3 separate regions of the Homo sapiens genome follow, and all the other regions are linked to region 2. Evidence: promoter capture Hi-C in human tissues and cell types (Jung and others, 2019). All regions are on one chromosome and are shown on one strand. The core of a region is centred on a gene start or on the middle of the fragment in contact, and the rest is flanking DNA. Distances in the headings are between cores, read along the strand shown.

Region 1 (2,700 bases), core at 168-2,667, 220 kb before region 2:
GCATGTCACTACTCTGAGCCTCTTTTAAGTTTTTTGTTCGTTTGTTTGTTTGTTTGTTTGAGACAACGTCTTGCTCTGTCAACCAGGCTGGAGTGCAGTGGTGTGAACATGGCTACTGTAACCTCGAACTCCTAGGCTCAAGCCCTGCCTCAGCCTCCTGGATAGCTGGGACTACAGGTGCATACCACAACACCCAGCTGTCTTTTTTTTTTTTTTAGAGACAGGATCTCACCATGTTGTCCAGGCTGGTCTCCTTTTAAGTTTCTGATTCAGCTTTTTATTTGCCAGATTGGTATCACTGCCTCAGTCACTTCAATTGCAAATCATTGCCACTGATTGGTTTTGACAAATGTCCTGAGGATAGGAATGTATTGGTCAAATAAAGGTGAGTCCTGAGAATGGGATCTTTCCCAGGAGCCTTCAGTCAGGTAAAATTGTGACAATTCTCTTTAGATTAGAGTTTGGGGGTTTACACCAAACCTGTTCCTCCCTCTCAAATAACTGTTATGCTGCTGCTTTTCATAGCTACCATGATTGTCAAGTTCACCTTCAGGGCTACTGTGAAGCTGGGGAGAGAAGGATAAGAGTAAGAGAAGTTAAAATATAAAAAGCTTCCTGTTTTTACTGAGATTCAGATGTTTTTCTTGAATCAATGCTGCTCAGATTATTGCAAGCCTTAATTTCCAACGTTTTGAAAAAGATGACTTTTGCAATTTTTGCCAGTGTTCTCATTGCTTCCATGGTCTTTGAAGGTGTCTACTCCACTGTTCTGGAAGTGCCATCCCTTATTTGCTCTTTTTTTGTATGTTTGTTTTTTGAGACAGGGTCTCCCTCTGTCACACGGGGTAGACTGCAGTGATCCAATCATAGTTCACTGCAGCCTCAACCTCCTGGACTCAAGCAATCCTCCCACCTCAGCCTTCTTAGTAGCTAGGACCATAGGCTAGAGTCACTGCACCCAGCTAATTTTTAAATGTTTTGTAAAGACAGAGTCTCACTGTGTTGTCCAGGCTGGTCTCAAACTCCTGGGCTCAAGAGATCCTCCCTCCCTGGCTTTCCAAAGTGCTGGGATTCTAGGCATGAGCCACCGTGCCTAACTCGCTCATTTCTTTTAAATCTAAGCTTAACTATCCACACCTGTGTGACCCTGGGCAAGGTGTATAATTTTGCCAGGACTTACCTATGTCTTGTAAACAATAAATGAAATAATATAGATAATACCGTAAAGTAGTTAGCACAACACTCATTTAGGCCCAGCGAGATGGCTCATGCCTGTAATCCCAGCATTTTGGGAGGCCAAGGCGGGGAGATCACCTGAGGTCGGACGTTCGAGACCAGCCTGGCCAACATAGCGAAACCCTGTCTCTACTAAAAATACAAAAATTAGCCTGGCATGGTGGCAGGCACCTGTAATCCCAGCTACTCGGGAGGCTGAGGCAGGAGAATCGCTTGAACATGGGGGGCGGAGGTTGCAGTGAGCTGAGATGGTGCCAATGCACTCAGCCTGGTTGACTGAGCAAGACTCCGTCTCAAAAATAAATAAATAAATAAATATAAAAAATACACATAAATAAATTAAAATAAATACATTTTTAAAAGTGAGTGCTCAGAGGCTGGGCTCAGTGGCTTATGCCTGTAATCCTGGCACTTTGGGAGGTTGAGGCAGGTAGATCACTTGAGCCCAGAAGTTCAAGACCAGCCTAGGCAACACTGTGAGACCCCAGTCTAAAAAAAAAAAAGGTGAGTGTTCAAGAAATGTAAGCACTTCTGATAGAAAGTATTTTTTTTAGATGGAGTCTCGCTCTGTCACCCAGGCTGGGGTGCAATGGCTTGATCTCGGCTCACTGCAACCTCTGCCTCCTGGGTTCAAGCAATTCTCCTGCCTTAGCCTCCAGAGTAGCTGGGATTACACGTGCACGCCACCATGCCTGGCTAATTTTTCTATTTTTAGTAGAGACAGGGATTTCACCATGTTGGCCAAGCTGGTCTCAAACTCCCAACCTCAGGTGATCACCCGGCTTGGCCTCCCAAAGTGCTGGGATTATAGGCATGAGCCACTGTACCCAGCCGCTTTTTTGTCCATTTAACCATATATTCTGGAGATCATTCTATATCAAACATTAAAAACTTCCCCATTATTTTTCGTGCTATTCCACTGGTCATAATTATTCAGTCAGTCTCATGTTGAAAGACATTTAAATTGTTTTTAATCCTCGACTATCACCACAATATTGCAATAAATAGTTTTTATTTTACACAAGGAAATCTAGCCCTGTATGTTATTAAAACAATTTAAGTGCTACTATAATTAAAATGGCTTGGTAATGGTACATAAATAGTTAAAGAGATAAGAACAAAAGAATAGAAAATTCAGAAACAGGCCCTAAAATATATACGAACCAGTATTTTCTGGTTTTGAGGACAATTCCATTATTATTTGGAACACACCAGCCTATTGCAGGCAAGAAAAACATTCAGTTTCTGAAGGAAAACAGTCCAACCTTTTAGTTCTGACTAATCCTGGCTGAAAATAGTTTACTGGATTTGGCTTTATTGAAATAAACAAAAGCTTGAGTTATCAAAAAAAGATCTGCATTGCAAAATTAATTTTTATGTAATAGAATTTCCCCCTTTTCCCACTGTTTCCAGAGTTTCCAACAGCATATAACTTTATAAAGTTAATTTTTGCTGTTATGGTAA
Region 2 (2,700 bases), core at 185-2,684:
GGCTCACTGCAACCTCTGCCTCCCAGGTTCAAGCGATTCTCCTGCCTCAGTCTTCGGAGTAGCTGAGATTACAGGCTCCCACCACCATGCCTAGCTAATTTTTGTATTTTTAGTAGAGACGGGGTTTCACCATGTTGGCCAAGCTGGTCTCGAACTTCTGACCTCAGGATATCCGCTTGCCTTGGTCTCCTAAAATGCTGGGTTTACAGGCGCGAGCCACCACGCCTGGCCTCTACTGCCACTTTCAATGGTCACATATTATCATGCACTGACATTTATTCACAAAATCCATTCTATGGGTTCTCCTTAATACACTGCTTAAGCAATGCTGAGAAAAACAAATTACTTGTATATCTATTTCCTAAAGGCATTTTATTTCTTTTTCTTTTTGAAAGATAGGGTCTTGCTCTGTTGTCACTGACATACCTCACTGCAGCCTAGAACTCCTGGGCTCAAGTGATGCTCCTGCCTCAGCCTTCCAAGTAGCTGAGACTATTAGAGTTGGGGGGGGGGGTCTCGCTATAATGCCCAGGCTGGCCTTGAACTCCTGGCCTCAAGCAATCCTCCCGCCTCAGCCTCCCGAAGTGCTGTGATTACAGGCGCGAGCCACCGCGCCTGACGAATAACAGATTTTATAGAAATAATTTTTAACCCAGAAGTTGCTATATTATGGAAACTGCTTATCTCATTATGCACCTTTCCATAAGTGTATGACATTGTATCTTAAATGTGTACATTAAAAATAAAACGCTGTACGTGCTTTTGTTCGTTAATTCACTTTAAAATTGTCACTTAAGTGCTCTCTAAGGGATTTCGGGGGGATCGGAAACCAGCTAGAGTTCTGTTTTTGTTTTTCTGCTCAGAAAGGCGGCCTGGGCGCTGGAGCCCTGCAAGGTGTCACCGTCCCAGGGGCTACGGAGCCCGCGGGAGGCTGATCCAGGCCCTGGGTGGCTCCCACAAAAGGGGCCCCTCTTCCTGCCCGCCTACTCCAGTGGCACTCAGTCCGGGCTTGCGACGCCTATTACCTGTTCATCTTGTCTCTATCGTTCAAGCCATTCTTCCTGAGCAAAAGGATCTGCTGCACTTTCGCCACATTACCCGCGCTGGCAGCTTTGTGGATCTTGCCGAGATCTCGGTCTCGGACGTGGTAGCCGGGCTGCGAGTAGGCGCCCTCCCCCGGCTCGCCCCCGCCTCCCGCGCTGCTCCTCTGCCGCCGCGCGAAGGAGCCCAAGGGCGACTCGCCCTTCTTACTAAAAATCTTCTTCATGGCCCAGGCGACCGGGCTTCAGAGACACCTCATGTCTCTCTCGGCTCTTAACGGCCTCCGGAGCCCAACATAACAAGTCAGCCCCGGCTGGCCGCAGCCTCCCAAAGGAAACTCCGCGGTTTCCAATCTCTCCCTCCGGGTTACCAAGCAAGCGATCCCGCTAGACACAAGTGCGCATGCGCACCTCAGATGGCAAGGTCCACGCGCGTGCGCACGAAGGCCCAGTGGTCAAGTGTGCTCCATGCGCATGTGCAAGGCCCAGACCTCGCAAATCTCGGCGACTGGGACGAGCCCTGCGTTCCTGTCAAACAAATGTCGGTGGGAGTCTGGCTGAGTGTTCAGGACGTTTGCGAAAAGAAGCCTCGCGCCTGTGGGGAAGCAGCCTTTACGCATGACTGGGACTGGAGTAGCGTGGAGTTTTAAGATGCTGAAAGCCTCTTCTCCGAGAAAACTCCCCTAAGAAACTCTCTGAATCTCCCTATCTCTCAGTTTATTCCCCTTCCATGTCCCTTTGGGTGCCATCTGGTCTCCATGAGAACTTAACAGATGCAACAACAGAGGGCACAGGATTTCGGAGATCGTGGCATATGTGTCAAGTGCAGAGGGCACAGGATTTCGGAGATCGTGGCAATATGTGTCAAGTGCAAACTTACGAGGAGAAACCAATGCACATTCTCCAGAAGAAATGAGAACGCATTTCTGCATGCCTCCTTCCCCCACCCCTCTGCCTTTGGCCCAGCCTTATGTTTTATTTTTTGCTTTTGATTTTCCAAGGTTACATCTCTTTCTTCTTTTTTTTTTTTTTTTCCCCAACAGAGTCTCGCTTTGTCGCCCAGACTGTAGTGCAGTGGTGCAATCACGGCTCACTGCAGTCTCCACCTCCTGGGCTCAACGATACTCCCACCTCAGCCTCCTGAGTGAGTAGCTGAGACTACAGACGCAAGCCACCACGCCCGGCTATTTTTGCATTTTTTGTAGAGACAGGGTCTCACCATGTTGCCCAGGCTGGTCTCCGACTCCAGGGCTCAAATGATGCTCCCATCTCAGCCTCCCAAAGTGCTGGGATTACAGGTGTGAACCACCACGCCCAGCCTAGATTGAATAATTTGACAACAAATTGGAATTAGCAACGCAGACGTCAAGTGGAGTCTCAGCAGAAATTGCTGCTGGAATGCACCTCCATAGCTCTGGACAGCTCTAGGGTCCCTTGTGGAGGAGGTGGCTGGCCCCAGAACAGGCGTCTTTATTGCCAAGTGAGAAATGAGCAAAAACAAAACAACACTTCTCAGGCCTCTCCAGCTTAGCTAGATCAAATGGTTTTGATGTGGGAGAGTGGTTTCCACTATCGTCACCAAGAATTTTCCTCCTACACTACCCCAGCTAGAAAGTTATGTTGTCTCCTCAACACTCCCCAAGGTGATCTATGAAGCTAG
Region 3 (2,700 bases), core at 57-2,556, 150 kb after region 2:
TTAACTCTAGCCTTTGCATTTTCTAAAATGAAAATGGTGTAGGTTAAGTCTTTTGCTCTGTCTCTGACCTGAGGTAGGGCTTTTGCAGGGGTGGAGGCAGAAGGCACACCCATGGAGAAGGGTTTCAGCACAGAGGAGACTGCGGCCTTATGCTCTTGGATGAATGAAGGCTTGGTGTAGATGGTGTTTCCCACTAACTTGTCAGGCCCCTGCTCTATGTGAGGCTGTCTCAGCTCCCTTGGGGCTGGACTCCCGAGCCTTTTTTCTTTGGCAGCGTTCTCTGCAAATGCCTGGGCACCCTGTTCCCTCCTGATCCTCTGCTTTCCACCTCTTTGAAGTGCCTTTTCAAGATGCTCCTTGGGCCCATGAGGACTCTGTTCACTCTCTGCAGGTTTTTGCCTACACTTTGAATCTTTGCCAGGCTGCTTTCCTGTGGTTAGATAGTTTCTAATTTCTTTTCAAATATTTGGCATTTAAATTTGTTACCTAGAAGGCTGGACTGCATAAGCATGGCAGTTTTTTCTTCCCTTTTAACTTCATCAATTTTTTCTTGTATTTCTGCATCTAACATACTTTCCAGCAAATACAGCTTTCTCAATTTATTTTCATAAGTTGAGTTGTTGGATGCAGGTTGAAGAGAGGGGCTCTTTGTATTGTTATTCAAAATACCCAGGAGCCTATCTCCATCTTGCACATTTGAAGAAAGCAGATTAATGAAGGGTAACAACATTGATTTCACATCTAGATTTACCGCTGAGAAATAAAGCAAGATGTAACTTAGTGCACTGATAACATCCCTCTCATCATTGGTGTCTAGCTGCCCACTCCCAAAGCCTGACAAATTGATGCCATTGCTGTCTGAGGCTGCCTCCGGCTCAATAGTCAGCTCAGTGCTCGTGTGCTTCTTCTGGGCTTGTAACACCTTCATGAACACTCCTGGATTCTCTACAGATGCTTCTTCAGACAATGTATGGTGTTTGTCAGAAATGCACTGCTGCAATGCAGCTTGACTGTCTTGCAGACAGCCTCAGTGCTATTTTTAAATTGGCAGAGGCAGCAGGTCATATGGCTAGGTAAGATCAGTTTCTCCAGTTCAACAGTCATCACGAGAATGTTCTCAATTGTTGTAAGTGGGACTTGCATTGTTCCCGTGTCTAGATATTTAAATGCTGACAATTTAAAGAGATATGGATCTTCAACAGTTGTCAGAGGATTGCGATTGAGAATTAACTTGTGTAAAAACTGCATTCCATGCCAGGCCTGAAATGTTCCAAAGCTCAGTTCTGTGAGTAAATTGCAACCAAGATTTATAAACTGCAAAAATGGTAGTGGTTCAAATGTATGTCTTTCGATAGACTGTATTTTATTGCAGGATAAATCTAAATACTGGAGGGATAGCAGGCCTTTAAATGAATCGTTATGTAATTCAGTCAAATAATTTTCATTGAGAATTAGTTTCCCGGTCCAACTGTATGCTTTCCATACATTTCCATCAATGTAAGAAATATAGTTTCCTTGGAAATTTAAGATGGTGAAGGTGCCATGGTAGGTGTTGGGCTCTGGCACAGGCACTTGGCAGAGCCTCTGTTTTGGGCTGAGATCAATACACGACAGCGTCTCACCTCCGCAGGTACAGAGCTCACATATGTTGGTGCTTGTGGAGGCCTACTGTTCCTCTGGTGCGGTTAAAGCCTTATTTTGGGCGTAACTTTCAGACTGCACCAGTGAATCCTGAGTAGGTTCTAGTTCAGTAGGTGGACCTGTGACTTCAGTCAGTTTTCGATGCAGAGTCTGAACCTGGTCTGGATGAGGAGCTGTAGTCTTCTCCAGGGCTGTAGAATGTCCAGTCTCTGTAGTGGGCTCTGGAGTTATGGCAAGCCCCAGGTCTGGAGGCTGAGTTGAGGTCTCCTCCGTGGTTGGAGACGGTTTAACCTCTGTAGTAGGTTCTGTAGTTATGGTAAGCTCCAGGTCCAGAGGTGGAAGTGTGACTTGAGTCAGGTTTGAATGCTGAGCCCGACCCTTGTCTGAAGGTGGAAGTGTCACCTCAGGGTGTTCTGGAGGAGGAGCTGTAGTCGTCAGGGCTGCAGAAGGTTCAATCTCTGTTGTGGATTCTGGAGTGGTGGTAAGCCCCAAATCCAAAGGTTGAACTGTGGCTTGAGTCAGGTTTGAATGCTGAGTCTGAACCTGGTCTGGATGTGGAAGTGTCACCTTAGGGTGCTTTGGAGGAACTACATTCTTCTTCAGGGGTGTAGAATGTCCAACCTCCGTAGTGGGTTCTGGAGTGATGGTAAGTCCCAGGTCCAAAGGTTGAACTGTAATGCTGGGTGACATTGGATGCTGAGCCTGATCCTGACCTGGTGTTGGAATTGTAACCTCTTGATATACTGGAAGTTGGGGTACAACTTTCTTAGGAGGATGAGTTGGGGTCTCCTGCATGGTTGGAGAAAGTTCAACTTCTGTTGTGGATTCTGGAGTGATGGTAAGCCCCAGGTCCAAAGGTTGAACTGTGGCTTGAGTCAGGTTTGAATGTTCCGGAGATTGAGCTACAACTACATTAGGGAGCTCTGGAGTCTCAGCTGGGGCCTCCTGCTGGGTTAGAGAAGACTTACCCTTCTCAGCAGTCTGTGGATGCTCAGCTGCAGCTTCCTGCTGGGTTGGAGAGGGGTTCTCATTATTAATAGGTTCCGGAGATTGAACTGA

Evidence for each region. Contacts are between HindIII fragments. The study calls those that stand out against the background at their distance.
Region 1: a fragment that was not itself captured here is called in contact with the fragment with the promoter of ANKRD26 in region 2 in 1 of the 25 tissues and cell types used here (spleen).
Region 3: a fragment that was not itself captured here is called in contact with the fragment with the promoter of ANKRD26 in region 2 in 1 of the 25 tissues and cell types used here (spleen).

What each region holds. Positions count from the first base shown.
Region 1 is chr10:26,876,573-26,879,272 of GRCh38, forward strand. No RefSeq gene overlaps it. Among named protein-coding and RNA genes, the nearest start is that of ABI1, 17 kb to the left of the region's middle. The HindIII fragment of the contact is 4,104 bases long and covers 1-2,700 here.
Region 2 is chr10:27,099,060-27,101,759 of GRCh38, forward strand. ANKRD26 (ankyrin repeat domain containing 26) reads right to left here and starts at 1,435. Exons shown (of 34, transcript NM_014915.3): 1 at 1,026-1,435. The coding sequence starts at 1,267. RefSeq lists an enhancer at 872-931 and a silencer at 1,102-1,281. The HindIII fragment of the contact is 17,734 bases long and covers 1-2,700 here.
Region 3 is chr10:27,247,335-27,250,034 of GRCh38, forward strand. It overlaps the pseudogene LRRC37A6P. Among named protein-coding and RNA genes, the nearest start is that of ACBD5, 7.9 kb to the left of the region's middle. The HindIII fragment of the contact is 5,017 bases long and covers 1-2,700 here.